2 separate regions of the Homo sapiens genome follow, and region 1 is linked to region 2. The links are contacts of gene promoters, found by promoter capture Hi-C in blood cells and fetal thymus (Javierre and others, 2016). All regions are on one chromosome and are shown on one strand. The core of a region is centred on a gene start or on the middle of the fragment in contact, and the rest is flanking DNA. Distances in the headings are between cores, read along the strand shown. Region 1 overlaps RYR1 (ryanodine receptor 1). Region 2 holds the start of CAPN12 (calpain 12).

The links. The method cuts DNA at HindIII sites, captures the fragments that hold promoters and counts their contacts. A CHiCAGO score of 5 or more calls a contact.
Region 1: a fragment that was not itself captured here is called in contact with the fragment with the promoter of CAPN12 in region 2 in 1 of 17 cell types (non-activated CD4 T cells); the score reaches 6.4 in non-activated CD4 T cells.

The regions. Positions count from the first base shown.
Region 1 is chr19:38,449,115-38,455,105 of GRCh38, reverse strand. RYR1 (ryanodine receptor 1) reads right to left here. Exons shown (of 106, transcript NM_000540.3): 12 at 3,221-3,342; 13 at 2,092-2,287. Among named protein-coding and RNA genes, the nearest start is that of RYR1, 18 kb to the right of the region's middle. RefSeq lists an enhancer at 1,792-2,319. The HindIII fragment of the contact is 175 bases long and covers 4,233-4,407 here.
Region 2 is chr19:38,743,162-38,749,299 of GRCh38, reverse strand. CAPN12 (calpain 12) reads left to right here and starts at 4,826. Exons shown (of 21, transcript NM_144691.4): 1 at 4,826-5,371. The coding sequence starts at 5,135. The HindIII fragment of the contact is 36,048 bases long and covers 2,425-6,138 here.

The DNA.
Region 1 (5,991 bases), core at 3,071-5,570, 290 kb after region 2:
CTTTGGTTTCATATTCCCAATCAGTCCCATTGCTCTCCTCTCCTCCTTGGCTCCCCATATCTATTCTTGTCCTCTCTGACTCTATCCCCAATATGAGATTCAGTCTATGATAATTCAGTCCTTATTAACACCAGGACTGAGTTTATACTTCCCCTTCCTGCACTTTTCTCTCCATCCTACTCACTTCCAGGAACCCCACTCCCACCAACCATCCAACTGGAACCCCACTCCCACCAACTGGAGAGGCCCAGTTCATTCTCCACACCAACCATCAGAAAGATTTTTCTCACTTTATCTTTTCTTTTCTTTTTTTTTTTACATTTTAATATTTTTTCTTATTTCATTGTGAATCATAATATACATACAGAAAAGTACATAAAACATATACAATCAATTCTCATTATTCATAGTTATGTTCTATAAAGTGATTATGAAGACTGAATTATCAAATACTGAACCACTGCTTCTAGGGGAAATACAGGGAGTCCCTGAGAGTCTGTGACAGTATTTTCATCAACCACTTATTACATAACCTTGTTTTTTATGTTTCTGTTTAAAGACAGTTATTTAATATATATTGTTGAGTCATTAACATTAAATTCACAGCCAACAGTACTATAACTCATGCCTTAATTAAGCTTATCTAACACATATTTTCTCAGTAAGGCACATCATAGCTTTCTTGCACTTAGGAAAGCTAGACAGCACTTCAGCACTACACTTGGGAGACATTATAAACAGTGAAATCAACAAAAAGGACAAAACTGTCTGGGTGCAGTGGCTCACGCCTGTAATCCCAGCTCTTTGGGAGGTGGAGGCGGGTGGATCACCTGAGGTCAGGAGTTTGAGACGAGCCTGGCCAACATGGCGAAACCCCATCTCTACTAAAAATACAAAAATTAGCCAGGCGTGGTGGCTCACACCTGTAGTTTCAGCTACTTGGGAGGCTGAGGAGGCAGGAGAATCATTTGAACCTGGGAGGTGGAGGTTGCAGTGAGCCAAGATCACACCACTGCACTCCAGCCTGGGTGACAGAGAGAGACTCTGTTTCAAAAAACAAGACAAAACAAAACAATTGTTGTATCTGCATCCTGGGGCCTAGATCAGTAGTGAGAGGAGCAGTGCCTCAAAGTGGAGAGCACAACCAAAGTGGCATCACACTGACCGGCTCTGCCACTAACTAGCTGTGACTGTAGAGGACCAAAACCTCCTGTGGCTCCCAAAGCCAAAGTCCTCACCAAGGCCTGGCCCTCGTCACCTCTCTGCCCTCATTTCCTCCCACTCCCCCACCCAAGCCTCCCTGCTCCAATCACCACCTGACTGTTTCTGGAACATGCCAAACACCCGCCCACCTCATGGCCTTTGCACATGGCTTCCTCTCTTCCTCCAGGTCACCCTGTCTGACAGCTCTGTCTTAAACTGCAAAACCCCAACACTCCCTACCCCTTACCTGCTGAATTTTTCTCTTTAACAGTTATTACCATCTAATATGCCATACAATTTACTTATTTATTTTATTGATCTCCTGTCTCTCCCCGCCATGTCAACTCCATAAGGACAGAGATTTTTTTCTGTTTTGTTCACAGCTGGCCTCCCCTCCCTAATGCCCAAAGATCTATTTCTGCCTCGGCACCTCCCATACCCCACACTGATTCTGTCCGCCCACCCCACAGACCCCGCGCCAGCAGACCCCGCCCGCTGAGTCGGCAGCCCTACCTCTGACCTCTGGCCCCACTCCTGGCCTCACCTCCCCAGGCCTCACCCTATACCTGAGCTTCACATAGGCCCCGCCCCTCAGCTCTTTTATTCCATCCTTCTCTCCAGGCCCCGCCCCCTGGTCGGCCATACGCCCTGCCCCTTCCCAAAGGTCCTGCCCACCAGCACAGCAGGCCCGCCCCTCCCAAGGCCCCGCCCCATCGTGTTCTCACTGGCTGGGGTTCCTGTCCGGCTCCTTCTCCTGCCCCGCCCCCTTCTCAGACCCTACTTCCCCAGGTCCCTCAGGCCCTGCCCCGCCCAGCGCCGTGGCCCCGCCCCTCAGTGGTCCCGCCCCCTGGGCCCACAGGCCCCGCTCCGCCCTCGCCACGTCCTCACCTCCTCCTGGAAGAGGCTCTGGCGGTTGCGCAGGCTTCGCAGCTTGCTCTGCTTCTCCTCGTGCTGCAAGTCCTCGGAGGGAGGCTCGAAGTAGATGATGAGGTCCTGCAGGCTCAGGATAACGCCCTCGATGGGCAGCGCCGTGCCAGCGGGTGGCCCCGAGCCCCGTGGCTTCCCGCTGAAGCTGTCCAGGCTCCTACAGGGACCTCGCAGCTGTCAGCCACGGCTGGGAGCGCTAACTGCCGCAACGTCACTGCCGCAACCTCACTCCCGCAAGACTCCCCCAGACCCACCCGTTTTACAGAGAGGGAGACCGAGACGCAGAGAGGGAAAAGCATTTGTCCGAGGTCACACAATGGCCAAGGGCAGAGCTGGGACTGGGACTCGCTCCTGTGTAGGTACAGGGGGGTCCCGGAACTCAGGGATGGAGAGGTCCAGGGTCCAGGCTCTGGGTGTCAGGGGTGTGAAAGTTGGGTGATGATCAGGAATGTGATCATGGTTGTCAAGGTCAGATTAGGGGTCAAGTGTACAGAGGTCAGGAGTTTAGAGGTTAGGGGTCATGTGTATATTATTGTTATTATTTTTTGAGAAGGGTCTCGCTCTGTCAGTGAAGCTGGAGTATAGTGGCTCACTGCAGCCTCTGCCCCCTCGGCTCAAGCAATCCTCCTTCCTCAGCTTCCCATGCAGCTGGGACTACAGGCACGTGCCACCACACCTGGCCAATATTTTGTTATTTTTTTTATAGAGACAGGGTTTCACTATATTGCTCAGGCTGGTCTCGAACTCCTGGGCTCAAGCGATCTGCCCGCCTCAGCCTCTCAAAGTGCTAGGATTACAGGCATGAGCCACTGTGCCCAGCCTAATTTTTTTTTTTTTTTTTTTTTTTTTGGTAGAGGCGGGGTCTCCCTATGCTGCCCAGGCTGGTCTCAAGCTCCTGGGCCCAAGCGATCCTCATGCCTTGCCCTCCCAAAGTCTTGGGATTACAGGTGTGAGCCACTGCGCTTGGCCCATGTATATGTTAGACAAGGGTGTGGGCAACAGAGGTAGAGATGAAAGAGGCCAAGTGTATGGATGCCCGGAGCATGGGACAGCACAGGAGTCACCCCAGCAGGGAGGGCAGGTTGCTCACTTGATGAACTGGTTGTATAGGCCATTGGTGCTGTGGATCATGCGGGCGGCCTGGGACTCCTCCTGCTGGCAGCGGGTCAGCGACAGTGCGTCGTCCATGTGGCCCTCCTGGTGCAGCATGGCCTAGGAGTGGGGAGACAGAGGTCTGGAGTGGGCCCAGCCACCCAGGGCCATGCCCCCAAGACGTCTGTCTAGACTTGAGTTCTGCACTTGCCCCCTCCTCCCTGCTCTGCAGAATCTCACTGCAAATTCCTCCTCATTTTTCTGTCCCCCGTCATCTGTCTCCTCTGTGTCTTTGATTCTCTCTCTCCTCTCTGTCTCTCTCTGTCCCTGTTTTTGGTTTTGTCTGTCTTTGTCTCTCTATCTCTCTCACCTCTGTCCCTGCCTCTCCCTCTCTATCTCTCTATCCCTATCTCCTTCCTGTCTCTGTCTCCAGGCCAGACCCTTTCCACCTGTACCTACTGCTGACTTAACATTCCCCCCGACCAGAAAGCTCTAACCCCCAAATTGAACCTGTCCCAGATAGAATGCCAGACCACCTTTCCACGAGGTGAGACCATCATGGCTGCCAGCTTCACCCCAAGCCGACCTCCCCAGAACTCATCCAGTCTGCGGCTGTAAACACCATCCACCTGCTGATGATGCTCACGTGTCCCCACTTTGGACATGGCCCAGGCCCCGTCTCTACGCCCTTGGCTCATGTATTCAACTACAGGCCTGTTTTTGCAAACGAGTGCCTCCCCAAGGATTCCTACTTGTCCATTCAGCAAGGCTGTAGTAAGTGGCTCTGTTCTAGGCACTGGCAGTAAAGCCTAAGATCCCTGTCCTTCTGAGCCAACACTGACTGTCCCCTAACTTGGTTGATGGCACTGATACAAGAGGTAGAAAAAAATTATTTAGGCAGAGAGTAAGGGCAACAGAGTCCTCGGCAGAGTTTCCTTTCTAACGGAAAGCAGCCCCCAAAATAATTTCTTTTCTAACAAAGAGCAGCCTGGAAAATCGAGCTACAAGCTTGCATGGGGGAATGTGCCGATAGAAAAGGTATACCTGGGGCTACGCATGTCCAACATGGAGGCTCCATCTTCCCTTTATTTAGTTATTTATTTATTTATTGTTTCCACGTTGTACAGAAAAGGAATGGGCAACATGGCCAGCTCAGGCAGAGGACCCGCTTGTACAATAAAAGCTTAGGGTGGAGGCAGCCAGAAATTTGTGCCCTATGCAAATGGCACAACTGGTCCAACCAGTCTTTTGCACCCTAGGTAAATCAGATACCACCTCCCCACCAGCTCATCTGTAAAGCCCCCTGCATTTCACCATGGAACCCCCTGCATTTCAACCCATTTTTCTGGGACCCTTCTCTGCAGTAGAGAGCTCCTTCTTTCGCCTATTAAATGTCCCCTCTTAACCTCACTCTTTGTGTGTCTGCGTCCTTGTTCTCTGTGGCTGTGAGACCACAAACCTTGGGTGATACTCCAGACAATGAGGCTGTTTCAGCACTTCCATCCTTCCAGTTGCTTGGGGCAAAAAATCATGGCATCATCCTCAACCCCTCCCCTTCTCTCACCCCACAGCCAATCTGTCAGCAAATCCTGTTGGCTCTACCCTCAGGACCCCACCAGAATCTACTACTCTTCCCAACTCCACAGTCCCCTCCTGGTCCTGTCCACTGTCATCTCCCATTTGTAACATCATGGCAGTCTCTTCTCTGGTCTCCCTGCTCTGGCTCTGTCCCCTGACCGTAGTCTGTTCCCAGAGACAGCCTAAGAATTCTGTGATCCTGCGTCAGGTCACTTCCCTGCCCTGCTCAAAATCTCCTGTGAGCCCATCTCACTCAGGATAAAAACTAGAACCTGGCCAGGAGCAGTGGCTCACACTTCACTTTAATCTCAGCACTTTGGGAGGCTGAGGCAGGAGGATCACTTGAGCCCCAGGAGTTTGAGACCAGCCTGTGTAATATAATGAGACCTCGTCTCTACAAAAAACAAACAAACAAACAAAACTAGACCTCTCCCATGGCCCACAAGGCCTCACACGAGCTGTTCCCATCCCCTCTCTTTCCTCACCAACCACTACTCCAGCCTGCTCACCCTGTTCCACACTGTGGCTTCTTTCTGCTACTGCAACAAGCCAAGCTCATGTTAACCTCAGGACCTTTGCACATGCTGTTCCTGCTGCCAAAAATAGTTTTCCCACTCCTTAATTGTAAAACTATGTACTTCACTAAAGGCAGTTTGTTCACAATTTCTGAGCACTGGGAGGGCAGGGAACAGGTCGCTACAGCTCATCTATTTTCTGCACACACAACCAGAACAACGCGGGTACTCAGTAATTGTTTGTTGAAAGTTATTCTCAGTTGGTCATTATCCATCTTTTTCTCACTCTCTCTGTTTTTGTTTTTGTTTTGTTTTGTTTTTGTTTTTCTGAGACGGAGTTTCACTCTTGTCAGCCAGGCTGGAGTGCAATGGCACGATATTGGCTCACTCCCAACCTCCACTTCCCAGGTTCAAGCAATTCTCCTGCCTCAGCCTCCTGAGTAGCTGGGATTACAGGCAGCTGCCACCACGCCTGGCTAATTTTTGTATTTTTAGTAGAGACAGGGTTTCACCATGTTGGCCAGGCTGGTCTCAAACTCCTGACCTCAGGTGATCCAACCGCCTGGGCCTCCCAAAGTGCTAGGATTACAGGCATGAGCCACCACGCCCGGCCGTGTCTCTGTTTCTCTGTCTCTATCTTTCTCTATTTCTCTGTTTCCATGCCTCTTTATCTCTG
Region 2 (6,138 bases), core at 3,577-6,076:
GCTGGAGTGCAGTGTCTCACTGCAACCTCTGCCTCCCAGGTTCAAGTGATTCTCCTGCCTCAGCCTCGTGAGTAGCTGGGATTACAGGCACACACCACACCTGGCTTTTTGTATTTTTAGTGGAGCCAGGTTTCACCATGTTGGCCAGGCTAGTTTTGAACTCCTGACCTTGAGTAATCCGTCTGCCTGGGCCTCCCAAACTGCTGAGATTACAGGCGTGAGCCATCGCTCCCAGCCTTTTTTTTTTTTTTTTTAGACAGAGTCTTGTCCTGTCACCCAGGCTGGAGTGCACTGGCACAATCTGGGCTCACTGCAACCTCCACCTCCTGGGTTCAAGTGATTCTTGAGCCTTAGCCTCCCGAGTAGCTGAGATTACAGGCATGCACCACTATGCCCAGCTAATTTTTGTATTTTTAATAGAGACGGGGTTTCACCATGTCGGCCAGGCTGGTCTCAAACTGCCGACCTCAAGTGATCCACCTGCCTCAGCCTTCCAAAGTGCTGGGATTGCAGGCATGAGCCACTGCACCCATCCAATCACTTTTCATTCTGGATCATACACTTTATCAATAGAAAATAACTCCTTTTGTCCAAAGTAATGCTATCTGCTTTAAATCCGGTTTTCTCTAATATCAGATTTGCCCTGATTTTTGTGTATCTGCTTTTGACTGATAGCTATTTCTAATCCTTTTATTTTAAAACTTGGTGGTGTTATCTTTGGAAAGTGTTTTGAAAGCTAAACAGTTGAATTTTGTTTGTTGATGTTCCCAAGTACGTTTCACACATTTGCATAATGTTGTTATAACTGATATGCTTGGTTTTATTTAGGTCATTGTGTGATGCTTTTTGCTTTTATTTTCTATGATTCGCTGCATTTTCCTTTGCTTTTCGACCATTGCCAAATAGATTACATTTTCTTTTCCTTTCATTTTAAGCTACTTCAGTGGTTTGAAAGTTGTACATCTGGCCAGGTGCAGTGGGTCAGGCCTATAATCCTAGCACTTTGGGAAGCTGACATGGGAAGTTTGCTTGAGCTCAGGGATTCAAGACCAGCCCTGGCAACAAAGTGAGACTCCATTCCACCAAAAAGTCTAAAAATTTGCTGGGTATGGTGGCACAAGCCTGTGGTCCCAGCTACTCAGGAAGCTGAGGCAGGAGGATTGCTTGAGCCCGGGAGGTCAAGGCTGCAGTGAGCCAAGATTGTGCCACTGCACTCCAGCCTGGGCAACAGAGTCAGACCCTGTCTCAGAAACAAAACAAAACAATACAAAAAAAGAAACAGTAAGACATGGCGCGGTGGCTCCTGTCTGTAATCCCAGCACTTTTGGAGGCCAAGGCGGGTGGATCACCTGAAGTGAGGCTTTCAAGACCAGCCTGACCAATATGGTGAAACCCTGTCTCTACTAAAAATACAAAAATTAGCCAGCCGTGGTGGCACATGCCTGTAATTCTAGCTACTCGGGAGGCTGAGGCAGGAGAATCACTTGAACCTGGGAGGCGGAGGTTGTAGTGAGCCAAGATCACGCCACTGCACTCCAGCCTGGGTGACGAGGCGAGACTGTCCCAAAAAATAAACCAACAAACAAGTGAAAGAAACAGCAGCCCAGATCCAAGGAGACAGGTTGACTGTGGATGGCCGAGGCCGCCCACCTCGGCCTCCCAAAGTGCTGGGATTACAGGCGTGACCCACCACGCCCAGCCAGAAAGCTCGTTTTGTAACCCACTTTTGGTAGCCATGTACGTAGGCAGCTTGGACAATATCTGTGGGTCCACTTGGAGGGAAGGAGGCCAGAAGGCTTGAGGGACATCTGAGTGGCATGGAGGTGACAAGGCTCTGGGAGGGCAGCAGACACTCTTGAACGCCAAGGCATGGTCAATGCCTCGTGCAGTGAGCAGCGACTCTGTGTCAGGCACTTCTCTGAACTCATCCCACGTACGAACTCATTCGCTTCCCACAGCAACCCTCCGAGGTACGCCCTATCATCATCCGCATTGCAGAGATGAGGAAACTGAAGCACAGAGAAGTTAAGTGATGTGCCCAAAGACACACAGGTGTAGGTGGCAGAGCTGGGATTGGACCCCAGGTGCTGTGGCTCCTAATCCCGGCAGGCTGGAAGCACTCCCATATGACTCCCGTGGGGCTGGGGTGGGCTTGGCAATCCTACACGAAGAAAACTTTTTTTTTTTTTTTTTTGAGATGGAGTCTCACTCTCTCACCCAGGCTGGAGTGCAGTGGCGTGATCTTGGCTCACTGCAACCTCCGCCTCCCAGGTTCAAGCGATTCTCCTGCCTCACCCTCCTGAGTAGCTGGGATTACAGGTGTGTACCACCATGCCCAGCTAATTTTTTTTTTTTTTTTTTTTTTTGAGACAGAGTCTTGCTCTGTCAACCAGGCTGGAGTGCAGTGGCGGCTCACTGCAAGCTTCGCCTCCTGGGTCCACGTCATTCTCCTGCCTCAGCCTCCCGAGTAGCTGGGACTACAGGTGGCCGCCACCATGCCTGGCTAATTTTTTGTATTTTTTGTAGTAGAGATGGGGTTTCACCGTGTTAGCCAGGATGGTCTTGATCTCCTGACCTCGTGATCTGCCTGCTTTGGCCTCCCAAAGTGCTGCTGGGATTACAGGCTTGAGCCACCGTGCCCGGCCTTTTTTTTTTTTTTTTTGAGATGGAGTTTTGCTCTCTTGCCGAGGCTGGAGTGCAGTGGTGCAGTCTTGGCTCACTGAAACCTCCACCTCTCGGGTTCAAGCGATTCTCCTACCTCAGCCTCCTGAGTAGCTGGGATTACAGGTGCGTGCCACCACACCCAGCTAATTTTTTTGTATTTTTTAGTAGAGATGGGGTTTCACCATGTTGGCCAGGCTGGTCTGGAACTCCTGACCCGCCCGTCTCGGCCTCCCAAAGTGCTGGGATTACAGGCGTAGTAAACTACCGCGTCCAGCCTAATTTTTGTATTTTTAATAGAGATGGTGTTTCACCATGTTGGCCAGGCTGGTCTTGAACTCCTGGCCTCAAGTGTTCTGCCCACCTCAGCCTCCCAAAGTGCTGGGATTACGGGCATGAGCCACCATGCCCGGCCCTGTTTTGGGGGGTTTTTTGAGATGCAGTCTTGCCCTGTTGCCCAGGCTGGAGTGCAGTGGCACAATCTCGGCTCACTGCAACCTCCGCCTCCCAGATTCAAGCGGTTCTCCTGCCTCAGCCTTCTGAGTAGCTGGGATTACAGGTGCCCGCAACTATGTCCGGCTAATTTTTGTATTTTAGTAGAGACGGAGTTTCACTACATTGGCCTGGCTGGTCTCGAACTCCTGACCTCAGGTGATCTGCCTGCCTCGGCCTCCCAAAGTGCTGGGATTACAGGCATGAGCCACCACGCCCAGCCAGAAAGCCTGTTTTGTAACCCACTTTTGGTAGCCGTGTACGTGGGTGGCTTGGACAATATTTGTGGGTCCACTTGGAGGGAAGAAGGCCAAAAGGCTTGAGGGACATCTGAGTGGCGTGGAGGTGACAAGGCTCTGGGAGGGCAGCAGACACCCTCAACGAGGGTGGAAGGTCTGCTGGGACCAGCACTGCTGAGGCTCTGGCATCTCCGTACCTGTTTCTCCCATTTCCTCCAATGGCTCCAGAGTCCTTTGGGGGAAATACTGCTCCATCCAGACTCTGAGTGGCGTGGGCCAGGGCAGGGCATCATGGTCACCAGATGGCTCCCAGCACAGGAGAGGTACAGAGCCATCCCTCCAGGGTCAGCCTCCCTGGGCAAGCAGGCTGAGTCTACCTTGTCCGGGAGGGGAGGAGGCGCATCCTGAGGGCTTAGGGGGCGTGAGCGGAGGGGAGCTCAGGGTCCCTCGGTGGATGATGGAGGAGCCACATATGGGTTACAGGGACAGACAGAAAGATGGAGAGGAAGAGACAGGGAGGCAGACACAAGGTACACTGACAGGGTCTGAAGGAGGAGGGGCTGGGGGCCTGGACTCCTGGGTCTGACAGGTACAGAGAGGAACAGACACACGCTGAAAGAGACACAAAGAGAGAGGGGACAGGCATAGTGATTCACGCCTGTAATCCCAACACTTTGGGAGGCCAAGCGGGGAGGATCACTTGAGCCCAGGAGTTCGAGACCAGTCTGGGCAACAAAGTGAGATCCCCGCCCCATCTCTACAAAAAAAAAAAAAAAAAAAAAAAGAGGGTGGGGTGGGGAGAGGGGTGGAGTTGGGGAAATACAGAGACACAAATATTGCCAGAAACAAAAAACAAGAAAGGGCCAGGCACAGTAGCTCACATCTGTAATCCCAGCTCTCTGGGAGGCTGCTGAAGCAGGAGGATCACTTGAGGCCAGCAGTTCAAGACCAGCCTGGGGAACATATGGGACCGCCCCCCGCCACCCCTCTGTCTCTACTTTAAAAAAAATTTTTTTTAATTAACAAAACCTGACCAGGCACAGTGGCTCACGTCTGTAATCCCAGCACTTTGGGAGGCCAAGGTGGGCGGATTGCTTGAGGCCAGGAGTTCAAGACCAGCCTGGTCAACATGGTAAAATCCCTTCTCTAACAAAAAATACAAAAATTAGCTGGGCATGGTGACACGAGCCTGTAATCCCAGCTACTTGGGAGGCTGAGGCAGGAGAATCACTTGAACCTAGAAGGCGGAGGTTGCAGTGAGCTGAGATCGTGCCACTGCACTCCAGAAACTGATGGAGAAGAAACATGAAGGCGGGGAGAGAGAAACTGTCAGAGGGAGGGGGAGAGAGGCAGTCTGAGAGATAGAGACACCGAGGTAAACCCGCCTCCTTCCCCAGCCCCACAGGCATAAGTAGGCAGAAGCTCACCCCCACACTGACCTCCTTCTTGGTGCTCTGACAGCGGCAGCCGGTCCTCCCTCAGCTCTGCCCGCCTTCTCTCCTGCTGCTGGCCAAGCCCATTAAGCTGCTACCTTGGCCACAACTGAAGGCCCCACGCCCTGGGAAGAAAGCTACTGAAGAGGCGTCCCTGCTCCCCAGCACCCCAAACCATCAATTAATATTAACGAGGGAAGGCTCCTCATTGCCTAAAGACCCCACTGGGGCTCCAATGGAAGAGAGGCCCCGCCCCCGTGACTCAGGAGGTTAAAGGGCCTGGTGCCGGCTTGTGAGGCCAGTGTCCAGATGGCATCCAGCAGTGGGAGGGTCACCATCCAGCTCGTGGATGAGGAGGCTGGGGTCGGAGCCGGGCGCCTGCAGCTTTTTCGGGGCCAGAGCTATGAGGCAATTCGGGCAGCCTGCCTGGATTCGGGGATCCTGTTCCGCGACCCTTACTTCCCTGCTGGCCCTGATGCCCTTGGCTATGACCAGCTGGGGCCGGACTCGGAGAAGGCCAAAGGCGTGAAATGGATGAGGCCCCATGTAAAGTGTGGCTGGGGTCTGGGCTCTGGGGTCTGAGGGAGGAGGGGCTGGAGGCATGGACTCCTGGGTCTGAGGAAGGAAGGCTGGGGGCCTGGACTCCCTGGTCTGAGGGAGGAGGGGCTCGAGACCTGGACTCTTAGGTCTGAGGGAGGAGGGGCTGGGCCTGGACTCCTGGGTCTGAGGGAGGAAGGGCTGGGCCTGGACTCTTGGGTCTGAGGGAGGAGGGGCTGGGGACCTGGACTCCTGGGTCTGAGGGAGGAGGGGGCTTGGACCTGGACTTCTGGATCTGAGGGAGGAGAGGCCAAGGCCTGGACACCTGGGTCTGAGGGAAGAGGGGGCTGGGGACCTGGACTCCGGGGTCTGAGGGAGGAGGGGCTGGACCTGGACTCCTGGGTCTGAGGGAGGAGGGGCTGGGGACCTGGATTCTTGGGTCTGAGGGAGGAGGGGCTCGGGACCTGGACTCCTGGGTCTGAGGGAGGAGGGGCTGGGCCTGGACTCCTGGGTCTGAGGGAGGAGGGGCTCGGGACCTGGACTCCTGGGTCTGAGGGAGGAGGGGCTGGGCCTGGACTCCTGGGTCTGAGGGAGGAGGGGCTCGGGACATGGACTCCTGGGTCTGAGGGAGGAGGGGCTGGGCCTGGACTCCCGGGTCTGAGGGAGGAGGGGGCTACCATGGGACTGGCTCAGCACAACTTCTGGAGACCCAGGGAAGCCATGCTCCTGCCCACAGGCTTCCAGGCCTTTCATGGGCTTGGAGGCCCTCACTCCTC